Regions from separate parts of the Homo sapiens genome. Here regions 2, 3 and 4 are each linked to region 1. Evidence: promoter capture Hi-C in 16 types of primary human blood cells and fetal thymus (Javierre and others, 2016). All regions are on one chromosome and are shown on one strand. The core of a region is centred on a gene start or on the middle of the fragment in contact, and the rest is flanking DNA. Distances in the headings are between cores, read along the strand shown.

Region 1 (3,650 bases), core at 964-3,463:
GGAAGTGACCATGCCCACACCAGGGGCCGCAGACAAACGGCCTCTCTCCGCTCCCTTGCCCTGGTCTCCTGCTTGTTGCTGCGGCTACTGCTGCTGCTCCTGACTCTTGGCTGATGCCTGAGTGCCTGCTTTCTTCCCATTTCCTTCTCTCACCCTGCAAGCCGCTGTAGAGGACACTTAAACATGGTGGTAAAGACCTTGGCCTTTAGAGGTAGGTAGCCCTAGGTTCAAACCCCGACTTCACCACTTTCCTGTGTGACTTTGGAACATTTACTGCTCCTCTTAGGACCTCTGTTTCCTCGTATGAAAAATATCATCATCTTAGAGAACCTGCCTCATAGGATCTCTGGAGTGATGAAAAGAAACAAGTATAAAAAGCCTGGGTGCAGTGGCTCACGCCTGTAATTCCAGCACTTTGGGAGGCTGAGGTGGGCAAATCACTAGAGGTCAGGATTTCGAGACCAGCCTGGCCAACACAGTGAAACCCCATCTCTACTAAAAATACAACAATTAGCCAGGCATGCTTGCTTGAACCCAGGAGGCAGAGGTCACAGTGAGCTGAGATCGTGCCACTGCACTCCAGCCTGGGCAACAGAGCAAGACTCGGTCTCAAAAAAAAAACAAAAACAGAAAAGCCCCAAAGAAGTCTAAAAAGTGCCTGGGCATACTAAGTGCTTAATAATGACACCTATTATTAGTATTATTGTCACCGAGTCCTTTCAATTCTTTCTTGGTTGAATTTTCCCATCTATCTTCTACCTGATAAACTCCTACCCAGCTTCCAGGCCTGGCTCAAAATGCCATCATTGTGAAACCTCTTCTGGTCCCTTTCCCCAACACCCAGAACTGACTGACGTTCCCATTGGAGGGACATTACATTCCGGCACTGTGCTGGGTACCTGGCTGCATTACCCAAATTCTACTCTGATTTGCAGTTCTGTCTCCTCTCCTCTACAGACCCCTAGCTCCTGCAGGGCAGCAGGCAGCTCAGATCTCTTCATCTCAGTGCAGGCCCAGAGTGTGAGTGCAAGTAATCATTTTTCCAATTGATTTAATCCCATCCCTGCTCCTAAGACCTTGGCCTAGCCGTTTCCAGTTCATGGGGGAACTATGATAACAACTGTCTAATCAGTCCCCCACAATTCAGGCTAACATGTGAATTACATAAGTCCTTGCTCAAAACCCTTCAAGGACAGAGCAGAATTTCCGAAAAAATCCCAGAGTTGGAGCCAGACCTGGGTTTAGCTCTAGTTTTGCCACAGGCTGATGTGATCCTATCACCTGGCTTTACCTCTCTAAGCCTTAGCTTGGCCATCAGTAAAACCAAGGCCCTCCTGCCACAGGGCACTAGAGGGTGCTCAGTGAGAAGTGCATGTGAAAATGTGTCAACATTACCTGAATGTTAGCTATTACTATTTCTATTATTTTTGAGAGGTAGTGTATTTTGGGGAGGAAGGAGAGGGTAGTTGAAAAAGTTTCTGTCCTGGAAGTCAAACCACCTCCTGAATGGTAATCTTCAGCAAGTTTCTCCAGTTATACAAAGAGGAGAGCTGTAAGATTTTTCTACTCCTAGGGTCCTGTTTCCTCCAGAAACTGCATTTGAAGCACCCTTTGTGAGACCATTCCACAAGGCAAGGGGGCAAAAACTGTGATCCACCCTTGAAATTAAATGCAAGTATCAGAGAACGTCTGTGCACTCCCATATCCACCCTTGTATTTGAAAAGGGCTTTAGCGTGAAGAAGTCTCCGTCAAATCTTGACGGTGGTATTCTCTACATGGCGGGATTGGGCATCATTTTAATTTTGTGTTTTTCCAAATCTTCGAAATCTGCAATTTTGGAACTAGAGCGATGATGGGGGCACAATATTGTGAAGGCACTACATGCTACTACACTGTCCATTTCAGAACGGCTAGTTCCATATTATGTGAGTGTCGCCTCACTTAAAAACCTTCAATACGCTCCCGATTTTATAGTCATTCTTTAAACCGTAGTTTGAAGAGAGAAGTACAGAGGCTATCAAGGCTCAGGGCCCGCGGAGTCGGGTGACGCTCGCCTCCGCCGATTTGTCCAAGTCGCAACCTAGCCGCCAGCCTGTAGGGCACTCCTCCGACCACGAGGGGACAATGCAAAGCCTCGCGTTCCCCACACTAAGGCGAGCACCGCCTCTTGCGTCTTGGAAGCGCCTGTGCGTGCGTGGGGCGTAGCAAGGGACGGAAGCTCTGCCTGTGCGACCGCCGCCCACCCGAGCCTATCTGGGCTGCGTCTTCTCGCCGCTGCTCTTCGTGGCCCAACGCCCCAATCCTTGCGTGTGCTTGCAGTCCCACCCCACACTCAGCCTTGTGTCCCTCGATCCAGTCTCCGACTTCCATTTCCCACCCTAAACCGCCTACCCGGTGTCTGTTCCCCGCCCGGTTGTCCTCGCCCTGCTGCGCTGAGTGTCCCCTGTTAGCCTCGACCCCATGGCGCTGCAGACGCTGCAGAGCTCGTGGGTGACCTTCCGCAAGATCCTGTCTCACTTCCCCGAGGAGCTGAGTCTGGCTTTCGTCTACGGCTCCGGGGTGTACCGCCAGGCAGGGCCGAGTTCAGACCAGAAGGTGAGCCCGGGCAGCCCCACGACGGGGAACTGTCTGTTCTCACGAGTCCCGTTTTGCCCTCGATTCCTTCAGAGTCGGAGAGCTGCCTGTCCGCTCTGCACACTCCACGTGTCCACTAGCAGAGTGAACCATAGGCCTGCCTTCCTAGTATAACGACAGCGCGAGTTGAAGCGACGGTGTTGAAGGATACTTAGGAATCCACGTGGGTCTAGAGCAGGAGAAGCAGTTAGGCAGAAGGAAAAACTGCTGCAGGGGCAAATGGAAGAAAGGAAAAGAAATCGTTATCAGGTTCTTTCAGTGTTTTAGTCGGCTGGACATCGGAATTTTCTGGGGAGCTTTTAAGAAAATCCTAATGCTCGGCTTCCGCCGATGGAGATTCTGATTTAATTGGTTTGGGATGAGGCCTGGGCTTCAGGAATTTAAGAAACGTCCCAGGTGATTCTAATGCGCAGCCAAGTTTGTTGAGAGTCACCTCTATAAATGTAGGAGAAAATGCAAAATGATCTTCTGACTTCAGGAAGTTGGCGGACTGGTTGTAGGGCCAGGGCAGGTGCAGTGAAAGTAACTAACATCAAAAGTTAGTGCGTGACCAGTGTATTTACCCTCGCTCAGCACTTTTAACAACGGTCTGTTTGAGACTAGGCATTGTTACTTTTCAGAGTTGGCTCAGCACAGCCTCAGTAAGGGTACAGTTTTCCTTGTAATTTGCAGAATTCAGTGTGCAGGTTTTAATGGGGCCCCCTGCGTCTGGATACCTGACTGTAGTCTGTCTTCTGATTAACATCCTGCCTGTTCACTTCCTGGTGAGGCCATCTATGCTGTTGCTTGGATTTCCTCTGTTTCCCACTTACACTACTATTTAATATTTTTCTTTAAATTGGCAGCATATGAGAAATTATAGGTTATTATAGGCTAGTTATTTTTCCCGAATTTACCTTAACATAATTACACATTTTTAAAAAACATGTTTATTCCATACCTGCCTCGCCACCAAATCTCAAGTGTCCCCAGTGGTCTGTAGAGTCACACTCTACAGAGCAGGCGTTAGCCTCCT
Region 2 (3,650 bases), core at 624-3,123, 640 kb before region 1:
GAACTCGAAAGGCAAAGCAGAGGAGAAAAGACTGCATTTACCATTCCCCATATCTGCAATGGATATTCAAGAAGGTTCTTTAGTGTCGCGGCAGAACAGCATGCTGTAAGAGGTGGGATGTGAGTAAAATAAGAAGAGGAAACTGTCATAGGTAGGTACCAGATGCCAGAGGCACTCACTGCATGTGCTGCACATGTGGGTACTATAGTCATCCCTTGGTATCCACAGAAGGACTGGTTCCAGGACTCACCCCCTACCAAAATCCGCAGCTCAAGTCCCTTAAATAAAATGTAGTATTTGCATGTAACTTATGCCCATCCTCCCATCTACTTTAAGTCTTCTCTAGATTACTTAGAATACCTAATACAATGTAAATACTAAATAATTGTTATATATATATATTTTTAAATTTCTTTTTCCAAATATTTTTGATGCAACATTGGTTGAATCCACAGATTCGGAACCTGATAGCGAGAGCTGACTGTACTATCCTCATTCCACAGATATGAAAGAAGAGCGGTGCCTGAGGTGCACAAAAACATATAGGAAAGACTGGGTCAGTTGTCAAGAGGTTTGGGATGCAAAGGTTGGTTTGGAATTGGAGTCACTGCAGGTTATTTAGAATGATGATTGAAAAATGCAGATTAAGAAAATTAAACCTGGGAGTGGTACATCACACAGTGGCCCTCAAGCTTACCTACCCTTAACTCCTCATGCCCAGGCCTCACCTGCAATCAATTACATCAGAATTTCCTGGGTGGACCCAGCTGATTTTAACATATAGCTAACCACTGGTAACAGCAAGGTCTATTCAAATTCACTTAATCCCAGTAGCCCCCGGAGGTAAAGACTATTTTTATTTCCATTGTACAGATGTGGAAAGTGACTCGGAGGGGCCGGGCGCACCCCTGAGAAATCTTTACTTCTTATTTCCCCAACCTGCGCAACCTGACTCCAGAGCTGCATATTCTTACTTTCTATTAAAAGCAGAGTCTGTTTCTTATTCTTCCCTCGAGCACACAGGCTAACACCTCTTAGGTGATGGTAAATGTCTATTAGAAAAACAAAAAAGGGAGAGGTGGCTCCATTTAATTTTCCAACCTTCCTGGACTAGGTGCCAAACAAACCTGGTTAAAAAACCTCCTACCCAGCAAATCTCACCTTCTCCCAACCAAAACACGCTTCAAGCTCCATCTGCGCACCTCCTGGGCTTAGGGAGGCAAGGATGAAAGGCACAAGGTAAACAATCCTGCCTCTGGGGAGCTTTCAAGTTAGAACCTGAGAATAAGCCATATAAACAGATGACCAGCCTTTGAAAGTTGTTGTCAGGATTAAATGCATAATTTTGCAGAAGGCGTTTCGTTCGGGGCCTACCACGTGGAAAGCGCTCACCAGACGACAGCTGCAAATAAAATAAACTGCGCACCCCAACAGCGTTAGGGGCCCCGCCAATTCCTAACTCCCTGTCTTACCCCTTTGCTTCTTTCCTTGACTACCCCCACACCCGACCGAACTCCACCAGAGGCTGCGGCTCCTCTCGGGCATTGTCAGCTGCACCTTGCGCCCCAGCCCCACCAGCCCTGAACAAGGCGCCGGCGTTTCCAAGAACCAAGGGCTGCAGGCGCACGAGGAAAGCGCGGAGGAGTCAGTGACCGGGCGCACTCGGAAGCCTGGCTCCCCGTCCCGGCACTGTCTCGGCCGGCTGTGCGACCCCAGCACAGTACCTAGGCCCTTTCCTCTCTCGCCCTGGAGGACTTTCGGAAGAGCGAGATTTCCTTTCGCTGCAAAACACCAAACTCGGAAAGGGCCGCGCTTTCCTCGCCCAGGGCCCTTACCTTTCTTGGCCCCACGCGCTCGCCGTTACCCCGGCAACGCCGGCCGTGGGGCGGACACCGCTGCCGTCAAGCAGTGCGGCCGCAAAGCCAGCCGAGTGCGCAGCCGCAGAGCTCCCGTCGGGACTTGGCGGAGTGCGCCTGCGCACGGCCGGCTGGCGGGTGTTCTGTGCGCCAGCTCTGCCACTGCGGAGTATGAGGCGGAGGCTGCGTGCGCGCTTTGCTGCTCTCTGCAGGATTGTACGGAAGCCAGAACGATCCTGCAAGACGCATTTTACAGATGAGATGCAGTTACCCGTCAAATGTCACATAGTCACGTGGGAGGTGGGAGAGACCTAGAATCTTCGGCCCTCGGTGGATGGGATGTTTGAGGCGACCGACAGGACTTTATTAAATGGCCCTGAGGAAACTGATCTCATCTTTCTCAATGTAGAAAGAGGATCACAGCAGCGCACCTGTGTACGCTGCAGCATGCGGGGAACTTGCAAGGACGTTTTCTCTGGCAGACACCTGGCCAGAAGCCTCTGTGTGCCCAGACTGCCTGTGCAGTTAAGGGACAATAGGCGGCAGGTCCACCTGCTCTGCATCCCCATTTTCCCCCCTCACTGGCTGCGTGAGCTTGAATGACTGACAACCTTTCTGAGCTTGAGTTTACTGAAAAATGGGCCATCAGAATTACGGGAGATGAGCAAAACTGGAGTGCAATAGGAAGTGTAAGTTTCTCCTGACCTGGTTATTTTAAAGGAGCCCTGTGGGGAGTCCAATATATACTTTCCCAAATATGAATCACAGGAGTTCCACCACACAGACTAAGCAGGAGGCAAAGGAGGATGGCAAGGAAGTGTGGCAAATACTGCTGGAGAGATTCATGGTGCTAGATGTGATGATGGATGTTGAATTTTGGACTTCTGCCAATGTTCTTGCCTCCATTCCTTCACGCATGCTGTTGCCTCTATGTTCCCTCCCCTCTGTTAGCTGCAGTAATTCCTGGTCAGCCTTTAGGTCTCAGCTCAAATATCACCTCTTCCAGGAGACTTCTTGCCTTCCCAGACCTGCTTGGGTGACTTGCCTCTGTGCTCTGCAGTAGTCTGGCATGGCATGTGTTGTCCCTGTTTTTCTGGCCCTTTTTATTTTTTGAGACGGAGCCTGGCTCTGTCGCCCAGGCTGGAATGCAGTGGCACCATCTCAGCTCACTTACCTCACTGCAATCTCTGCCTCCCAGGTTCAGGTGATTCTCCTGCCTCAGCCTCCCGAGTAGCTCGGATTACAGGCGCCTGCCACCACGCCCGGCTGATTGTTATATTTTTAGTAGAAACGGGGTTTCACCACGTTGGCCAGGCTGGTCTCAAACTCCTGACCTCAAGCGATCCTCCCGCCTCGGCCTCCCAAAGTGCTGGGATTACAGGCTTGAGCCACTGCATCCTGCCTGGCCCTTTTTGAACTGCACTGTGGGCTTGCTCTTGGTAGAGTGAGATCATGTCGCAGCATTCAGTGGGTCCTCTGCTGCAAGGACCTTCACTGCTAGGCTAGGGAGTTCAGGTTTTAGATAAACCAAAATCAAAGAGCTTTGTGGTAAGAATGTTGCAAAAGAAAGGGAGAAAATTGGCAAGAGTCACAGGATATGGTAACAGGATGGATTGGGCAGGGGAGAGACAGCTGAAGAGAGGCTGTAATATCCGACCAGAACATGCCAATTTAAGAAATACTGGTTTTAGAATTAGAGGGCTTTAACAATGAAAGGGATTCAGAGGTTGTCCAGTTAAACTTCCTTATTTAACTGATAAGAAAACAGTTCCAGTGGCACTGTGAGTTGTCAGA
Region 3 (3,650 bases), core at 700-3,199, 620 kb before region 1:
TTTGGGCTATCATGAATAATGCTGCTATGAACATTTATGTGCAAGTCTTTGTGTGGCTGTATGTTCTCATTTCACTTTTGAAAATACCTATGAGTAGAATTGCTAGGTCATATGGTAAAGTGCATATTTAACTTTATAATCAACCACAGAAGTGTTTTCTTAAGTGCCTGTACCATTGTGCATTCCCATCAGCAGGGAATGAAAGTTCTAGTTGCTCCACACCCTCACCAATGCTTGCTATGGTCAGTATTTTTATTTTTATATTTTTTTGAGACAGAGTCTTGCTCTGTTGGCCCAGGCTGGAGTGTAGTGGTGCTATCTTGGCCACTGCAACCTCCACCTCCCAGGTCCAAGCAATTCTCCTGCCTCAGCCTCCCGAATAGCTGGGATTACAAGCATGGGCCATCATGCCTGGCTAAGTTTTGTATTTTTAGTAGAGACAGGGTTTTGCCATGTTGGCCAGGCTGGTCTCGAACTCCTGACCTCAGGTGATCTGCCTGCCTCGGCTTCCCAAAGTGCTGGGATTACAGCCATGAGCCACCACGCCCAGCCAATGGTCAGTCTTTTTCATTTTAGTCTTTCTGTTGGAGGTACAGTGGTGTCTAGCAGTTTTCATTTGCATTTCCTTGCTGCATTTCCCTGTCTACACTCTGAACCACTACACCCTGCTAGTGGGCCCTGCATTGGACACAGGACAAGGAATAGATAGTGCCAGCCCTGGAGGGACCCACAGTTGGGGTCCGGGAGCCTCAGGTGCAGAATTAGCCTCAGTTTCAAGGGCCGTCTCTGCTAATCCCTCAGGGTAAACAGAGAAGAGTAAGTGTAGGTAGTGGAAATTAAGGCAAAGCAAAGAGCATCTGGATGGCTGCAAGGGGAAGCTGGGCAGGGCCAGAGCAGGGAGCTTACTTAGCAGTTTGGAGGTTGGCTGCCTTTGTTTTTTCAGCACGTTGGAATCTCCTGGCTACTAGTCTTTTATTTCCTTTAATTAGCCTCCCCTACTTATGGCGACAGGTCAAGATCTCTAGGAAGTGTTCCAGACGACTCTGCCTGACAGACAGATGTCCCAGAGATCCCTATGTTCACTCCTTAGAGTTAAAATGAATCCTGTTTCCCATCCCTAGACCTGACTTAGGGCAAAATAGTTTTACTTTTGGTGCTTTGACTTTTCATTCCTTGCTTTCCCTCTAACGCTAAGAAAGTATATTATTTACAAAATATCTCTATCGCCTAGAAAATATCTCCCTGGGAAGAATTAAACAGTTACCCATTAAAAACTTTAAAAAATGCAGGCATGCATCAGCTGGCGTTAGTGCACCAGTCACTTTTAGAGTCTATTTGGTAGAAAAACACGTTACTATGGCGAAACTCCGTCTACAAAAAAACACAAAAATTAGCCGGGCGTGGTGGCGTGAGCCTGTAGTTCCAGCTACTCGGGAGGATGAAGTGGGAGGATCACTTGAGCCCTGGGGGGTTGAGGCTACAGTGAGCCGTGATGGTGCCACTGCAGTCCAGCCTGGGCGACAGAACAAAACCTTGTCTCAAAAAAAAAAAAAAAAAAGAAAGAAAGGAAAAAAACAAGTTATTGAAGCTTGAAGGCAAAGTCGGCTCCCTTGAAGGCACTTGGTTGTAAATGCGGGCACCATCAGAAATTCCTTTAACAGCAACTTACATAGTCACCACTTTGGAGGGGGTAATTTCCTAATGTGGTGAGGACGTTTTAAATGCGGGCACCATCAGAGATTCCTTCAACAGCAAAAACTCACACAGGCATCATTTTGAGGACAGCGATTTCTTAAACGTGCTGAGGATGTTTTAAATGCTTATAGTAAAATACTCAGAAATGGACTGAAGGCAAACACCAGAGACAGAGAAATCACAGAGGCCAGTGTCTTCCAGTTTCTATGGCTCTTTGACAGGCATGATCTGGTCTAATCTTGGAAGGTTAGTTACTTTCCCACTTTACAGATAAGCAGGCAGCGGCCAAGGGAGCTCTACAGATGTAGGAGAGACACCAAGACATGGGCTCCCTGCCTGCAGCAATTTCCCCAGCTCTGCATGCCTTGCCTGGGTTTTGAAGGAGATTGTGGCTGCCAAAGAATGTTTGGTACTAAAGAAGATTTTAAAGAAAAAATGGAAGAGATTTTGTCATTGCCCATCCTGCAGGTAAAGACAAGTCAGAAGAGGTCAGCCAGTGCTTGGTGCACAGACACACCCTCCTGCCCTTTCTCCAGGCCAGGAAGCTGAGATGCCCCGGGCTGAGCAGTGGGGACTTCTGAGAAAGCAGGCACAATTCCTAGCCTATCAAGCTTGTGGTCCAGAGCAGGAGGCAGATATAGAAAGAAGTAAACAGGCCGGGCCCCGTGGCTCACGCCTGTAATCCCAACACTTTGGGATGCCAAGGCAGGTGGATCACTTGAACCCAGGAATTTGAGACCAGCCTGGGTAACATGATAAAACTCCATCTCTACTACAAATACAAAAAGTTAGCTGTTATGACAGAGAGGTAGACAGGGCACTATGAAGCCCATAGGAGAAAGCAACCCTTTGGAGGATGGTTTAGGGTTTTCTTTACAGAAAAAGGGACATTTGAGTTGGGCCTTGAAGGATGAATAGAAGTACACTGGAAGACAACAGAAGGAACAATCTACAAGTCAGAAGAGCATGTGTGAGGCACCAAAATGTAAAACCATGGCAGGTACAGGAAGATGTGGGTCCTTGAATGATCTGGAGCATGGTGTGGAAGACAGAAATAGTGGGAGGAAACTTGGTGAACTCAGTAGAGGCCAAACCCCAAGGAACCTTAAGGGCCAAGCTAAGGAGTTTGGGCCCAACCCATTGAAGCATTTGGAGCAGGGGAGTGACCTGATCAGAGTATGTTCTTGAGAAAATATCTTGGCCACCACAAGCAGAATGGATAGAGACAGAAAAGCTGGGTACAATTATGTGAGGCCCTTAGTCAGTGCCAGGCATGGCCCATGGACCTGTGATGTGCCAGCACTGTGCCAGGGACCTGGGATTGGAAGTTGGCTGGCAGCACTTCCAAAGGAAGCTAGAATCCACCTGTTGCACCACTGATGACCTCTTCCCAGTGCCACTCAGCTCAATCCCCAGCAAGCAGAAAGTAGACATTGACCTTACTCCCCTTTCAGGGCAGATTCCAGGATACCACATATCACTCTGATTCCAGGATGGGAAAATGGCCAGTGCTCAGCTGAGATTGCAGTGGCCACAGTAATCCAGGCACCACCTCCTTGATTCACAAATCTCTCACAACTCAGTGTCCTAAGTCCGGTTGACAACCCAGTTCCCCTTATAGCCACAAAATGCTTCGGGAGGTGGGCAGCCTAGAGCTGGTTAGACCCCTTGCTTTTTCAGAGGAGGAAATTGAGGTACAGAGAGGTGCCCAGGCTTGCCCAAGCTCTCAGGATTAAGAAATGGTGGATCTGGCAGGGCACGGTGGCTCATGCCTGTTATCCCAGCACTTTGGGAGGCCGAGGCAGGCGGATCACGGGGTCAGGAGTTTGAGACCATCCTGGCTAACACGGTGAAACCCTGTCTCTATTAAAAAATACAAAAAATTAGCCGGGCGTGGTGGTGGGCGCCTGTAGTCCCAGCAACTCGGGAGGCTGAGGCAGGAGAATGACGTGAAC
Region 4 (3,650 bases), core at 551-3,050, 520 kb after region 1:
TGTCTCTCAGTCTAAGTTTCTCAATTTATAAAATGGGGGTAAAAGCTGATAACTGTCACATAAGGATCAAATGAAGATATTAAATGTGGAAGGAGAAATGGCATTTTTCCTGACTGGTTTACTATATGAAGAACAGGATCACATACAACTTTAAGTATATAACAAATAAATATTTAAGTGCATTAATACTTCATCCTTCCTTTAAGAATGGACAGGAATAAAGATTTTGTGTTAAAGAAAAGTAAAATTGAAAACGGGGGGAGCAGAGGGGAACAAATCCTGAAGACTGAAAAAACTGCCTAGAGAAAATTTCCTGGTCACAATCTTTGCCTTTGTTCCAGTCTGAATAGCAGAGCATGCCCTCTGTTCGAAGTAGGTGTCTGCATTGGCAAAGAGGTACAAGTTGTACTTTTCTCTTCCTTTCTTCTGCCATTGTGACGATATGAAAAGAAAGTAAACCTGGTTCCGTTTCTGATAAATGATAATTATATGCATTTTCAAAGACCGGCAAATTACCTGGGCTAAATGCCATTTCTGGAAGCTTCACTTCGAAGATGATGCTGTGGGCAACGTCTCTCGCCCCCTGCATGGTACGGTCACGGAAGCAAACAACTTCAACAGACTGGAAACTGCTACTCCTGTTGTCATGCCCGGATTTTTATTTATTTATTATTTTTTTTTAAAGGAAGGAAAAGAAAAAGCTCACATAAGAGCTTCAGCAAACCAGTTGGAGAGAATTCAATGCATTCTAATTATGCCTCTCTGATACCCACAGGAGATGGCCTTAACTCTTTTGAACATATTCATATATGGCTCCTCTGTCCAAGTGTTTAGAGGCTGAAAAATGAATTGGCTGTGATTTCTTTCTAGGTGATTTCTTTCTACAATCATATTGCACATAAATAATTCCGACAAGTAAATCTTTTAAATGCGGAAAAAATGCTCACAAGACATTTAGAAAAAATCCTCTAGGACGTGGGTTCTTTTGGTTCCCTCTGCTCTCCCCATCTGAACTTCCATATTAAGCAGCAGTACCTCAGTCAGTAGTTAGGAAGCCCATTTGCACTGTGTAGACTTACCACCTGGATAATTGTAGATTGTCTCCCTCAGAGAACAATCTATAATTTATCTATCTTCATATTTTTAAATAAACATTTTTATTTAAGTAAAGCAGACACATTACACAAATCCCAAGTATAAAGAAGGCTGTCTTATGCCTTCTCTCAGTCATTAACCACTGCCTTCAAAAGTAACAACTACTCTAAGTCCATACATTGGTTTTGCCTATTTTAACTTTACATAAATGGAATCATGGAGTATGTATTATTTTAGGTCCAACTTATTTCACTTAATATTATGTTTTTAAAATTCAGCCATGCTGATCTCTGTATTAATAGTTCACTCAGATTCATTGTATATGACATTTCATCATAAGGGATATACTTAAATTTATTATTCATTTCATTATTGAAGAACGTGTGAACTATTCCCAGCTTTTGGTTATTGAGAATAATGCTTCTGTAAACATTCTTGTATATGTGTTTTGCTTCTATCTATGTAGGTATTTCAGTGAGTAATATACTTGAGAGTAACATTGCTGAGCCATAGATATTTTTAATTTTGGTAGATACTGCCCAACATTTTTCCAGCAGTATTTGCTCCACATCTTCGACAACACTTGGTACAGACATTTTTATTAAATACTTTTGGTGGATATGTAGTAGCATCTCATTATGGTTTTAATTTTTATTTCCTTAATGACATGATGTTGGGCATCTTTTCAAATGTATATTGGCTTTTAAGATATCCTCTGTTTTAATTATTTTAGGGTTAAGAAAAATGGAGAATGACAGCAGTAGGAAAATCCTATCTGAAAGAAACCCAGACAGCTAGAAGGGAGGGCTACAGAATTTGTGTCAGGACCTCTGGCTACCAACTCTACCATACACTAAAACATCTTTAGCACAGAATGATCAGAGTATGCAGGTCCCTAACAGACCTGCTTAAGGTTCACTAGTATGGAAATTGGGTTATGACTGATTTATTGATTACCTGGTTTCCATGCCCAAAATGAAAAAATAATGCATTTAGGAAAACAGAGATACAAATAGAAACAGACACATTGTAAAACATATACTGGCAAAGGCAGACAGACAGACAAACACACACTCTTGTAAATACCATCTGTGGGCTGCTAGGACCAAAAAATTCCTCAAAGGCCATCCAGGGTACTGGGCTAAGTTACAGGGATCATATACACCAATTGTTATCTGTGAACAAAAAAGACTTTCTGAGTAAGTCGAGTATCATGTCAGCTTCACAATACAGACATTGCTCATACTTCCTCTTTGCTTTTTTATGCTTTCTGCAAAGCCTTAAAAATTAAACATCTGGTAAAGGGCTAAGGGGAGGAGAAGAAAGCCACAGGATCTCACACTGCACTACAGAACTTCTTGATAGCAGGGGCTATCAAATTCTTGTCTGCACCCCCTGTGCCTTGCATTGTGCCTGGCAGAAAGTAGGAGCTAAATACACGTAGAAGGAAAAAAGACTGGAAGGAAGATGGGGAATGAAGGAGGACAGTCAAGAGAGTTTGTAGAGAAAATCCTCTTGTAAACAAAGAAATATAATCTGTGAAAATTGCTCATTTTTATGCAATGAGAAAATCAAAGAAGGGCCACTACCAATGTAAGTGTACAGTCAGATCAAGTTAAACAGCCAGTTACTCTTGATTTTGCTAACATATATTTCCTCCCTCCCCTTTCCCATCCCACTCCAATCCCGATCTTCATCTGGAAAACTCTACTCAATTTAAAATACCGTTTCTTCAGTGAAGACTTCTGCTGGCAGAAGTAGTTGGCCTGTCCTTGCTGCTTTCACAGCTCTTTGAACCTTGTATATAACATTTTTCATTTTCTGTCTCCTTCCTTTCAAAGACAATGAGCACCCAGCACCCAGATACTGACTTCTAAATACCATTCTCCAAGAAAATAAATCGGGGCTCCTTGGACACATGGTTAATTCTAGGGCTCAGGCAGGGAAAATACAAGAGAAGCTTGGAGCATCTTATAATATCAGGAAAGAAGGAGGTACTCAAAAAACAAATGAATTGGGGCATGCCAAGGTGATACAGGCACCAACTGTAAGAGTTATCAATAGCCAAGGCTGGAACAATTTGTGCAACAATATAAATAATATGATGTTGAATTATAACCCAAAGTATAAAATAAGTATCTACGAGTCCACACTGATATAAATAAAGAATGGAATAAATGTGAAGGGACAAGTCTTCCTTAAAGAAAATTTCCAAACTATATAAGCAAATACTGGCCTCTTCAGAAGCAAAATTTAAACCTTCCCCTCCTTAAAGGTAGCTGGAATTACTGATTTACTTTCAAAGAAAAAATAGTATTTTTACAGTGGAGAAACCTGGCAAATATTACCTTAAGCAAGCAATCAATTTAACATTACCAAGGATGTCATGTGGATATCAGGTGATAAGGGTACTTCACTCAGTGGTATTTTTTCCAAAAACCCATAACCCCAGTCTAATCACAAGAAAACATCAGACAAATGCAAATTAAGGGACATTCTATAAAAATAACTAATCAGTACTCCTCAAAAATGTCAAGGTCATCAAAAAAAATCAA

The links. The method cuts DNA at HindIII sites, captures the fragments that hold promoters and counts their contacts. A CHiCAGO score of 5 or more calls a contact.
Region 2: a contact is called between the fragment with the promoter of TSEN2 here and the fragment with the promoter of TAMM41 in region 1, in 2 of 17 cell types (naive CD8 T cells and naive CD4 T cells). The highest score is 8.0, in naive CD8 T cells.
Region 3: a contact is called between a fragment that was not itself captured here and the fragment with the promoter of TAMM41 in region 1, in 1 of 17 cell types (total CD4 T cells). The highest score is 5.3, in total CD4 T cells.
Region 4: a contact is called between a fragment that was not itself captured here and the fragment with the promoter of TAMM41 in region 1, in 1 of 17 cell types (total CD4 T cells). The highest score is 5.4, in total CD4 T cells.

The regions. Positions count from the first base shown.
Region 1 is chr3:11,845,448-11,849,097 of GRCh38, reverse strand. It overlaps TAMM41 (TAM41 mitochondrial translocator assembly and maintenance homolog), which reads left to right and starts at 2,213. Exons shown (of 8, transcript NM_001284401.2): 1 at 2,213-2,596. The coding sequence starts at 2,462. The HindIII fragment of the contact is 19,949 bases long and covers 1-3,650 here.
Region 2 is chr3:12,482,703-12,486,352 of GRCh38, reverse strand. It overlaps TSEN2 (tRNA splicing endonuclease subunit 2), which reads right to left and starts at 1,873. Exons shown (of 12, transcript NM_025265.4): 1 at 1,473-1,873. RefSeq lists an enhancer at 1,530-1,949. The HindIII fragment of the contact is 9,261 bases long and covers 695-3,650 here.
Region 3 is chr3:12,463,328-12,466,977 of GRCh38, reverse strand. No RefSeq gene overlaps it. Among named protein-coding and RNA genes, the nearest start is that of TSEN2, 19 kb to the left of the region's middle. The HindIII fragment of the contact is 718 bases long and covers 1,591-2,308 here.
Region 4 is chr3:11,329,960-11,333,609 of GRCh38, reverse strand. ATG7 (autophagy related 7) reads right to left here. Exons shown (of 21, transcript NM_001349232.2): 10 at 2,182-2,270; 11 at 517-638. Among named protein-coding and RNA genes, the nearest start is that of ATG7, 59 kb to the right of the region's middle. The HindIII fragment of the contact is 2,514 bases long and covers 544-3,057 here.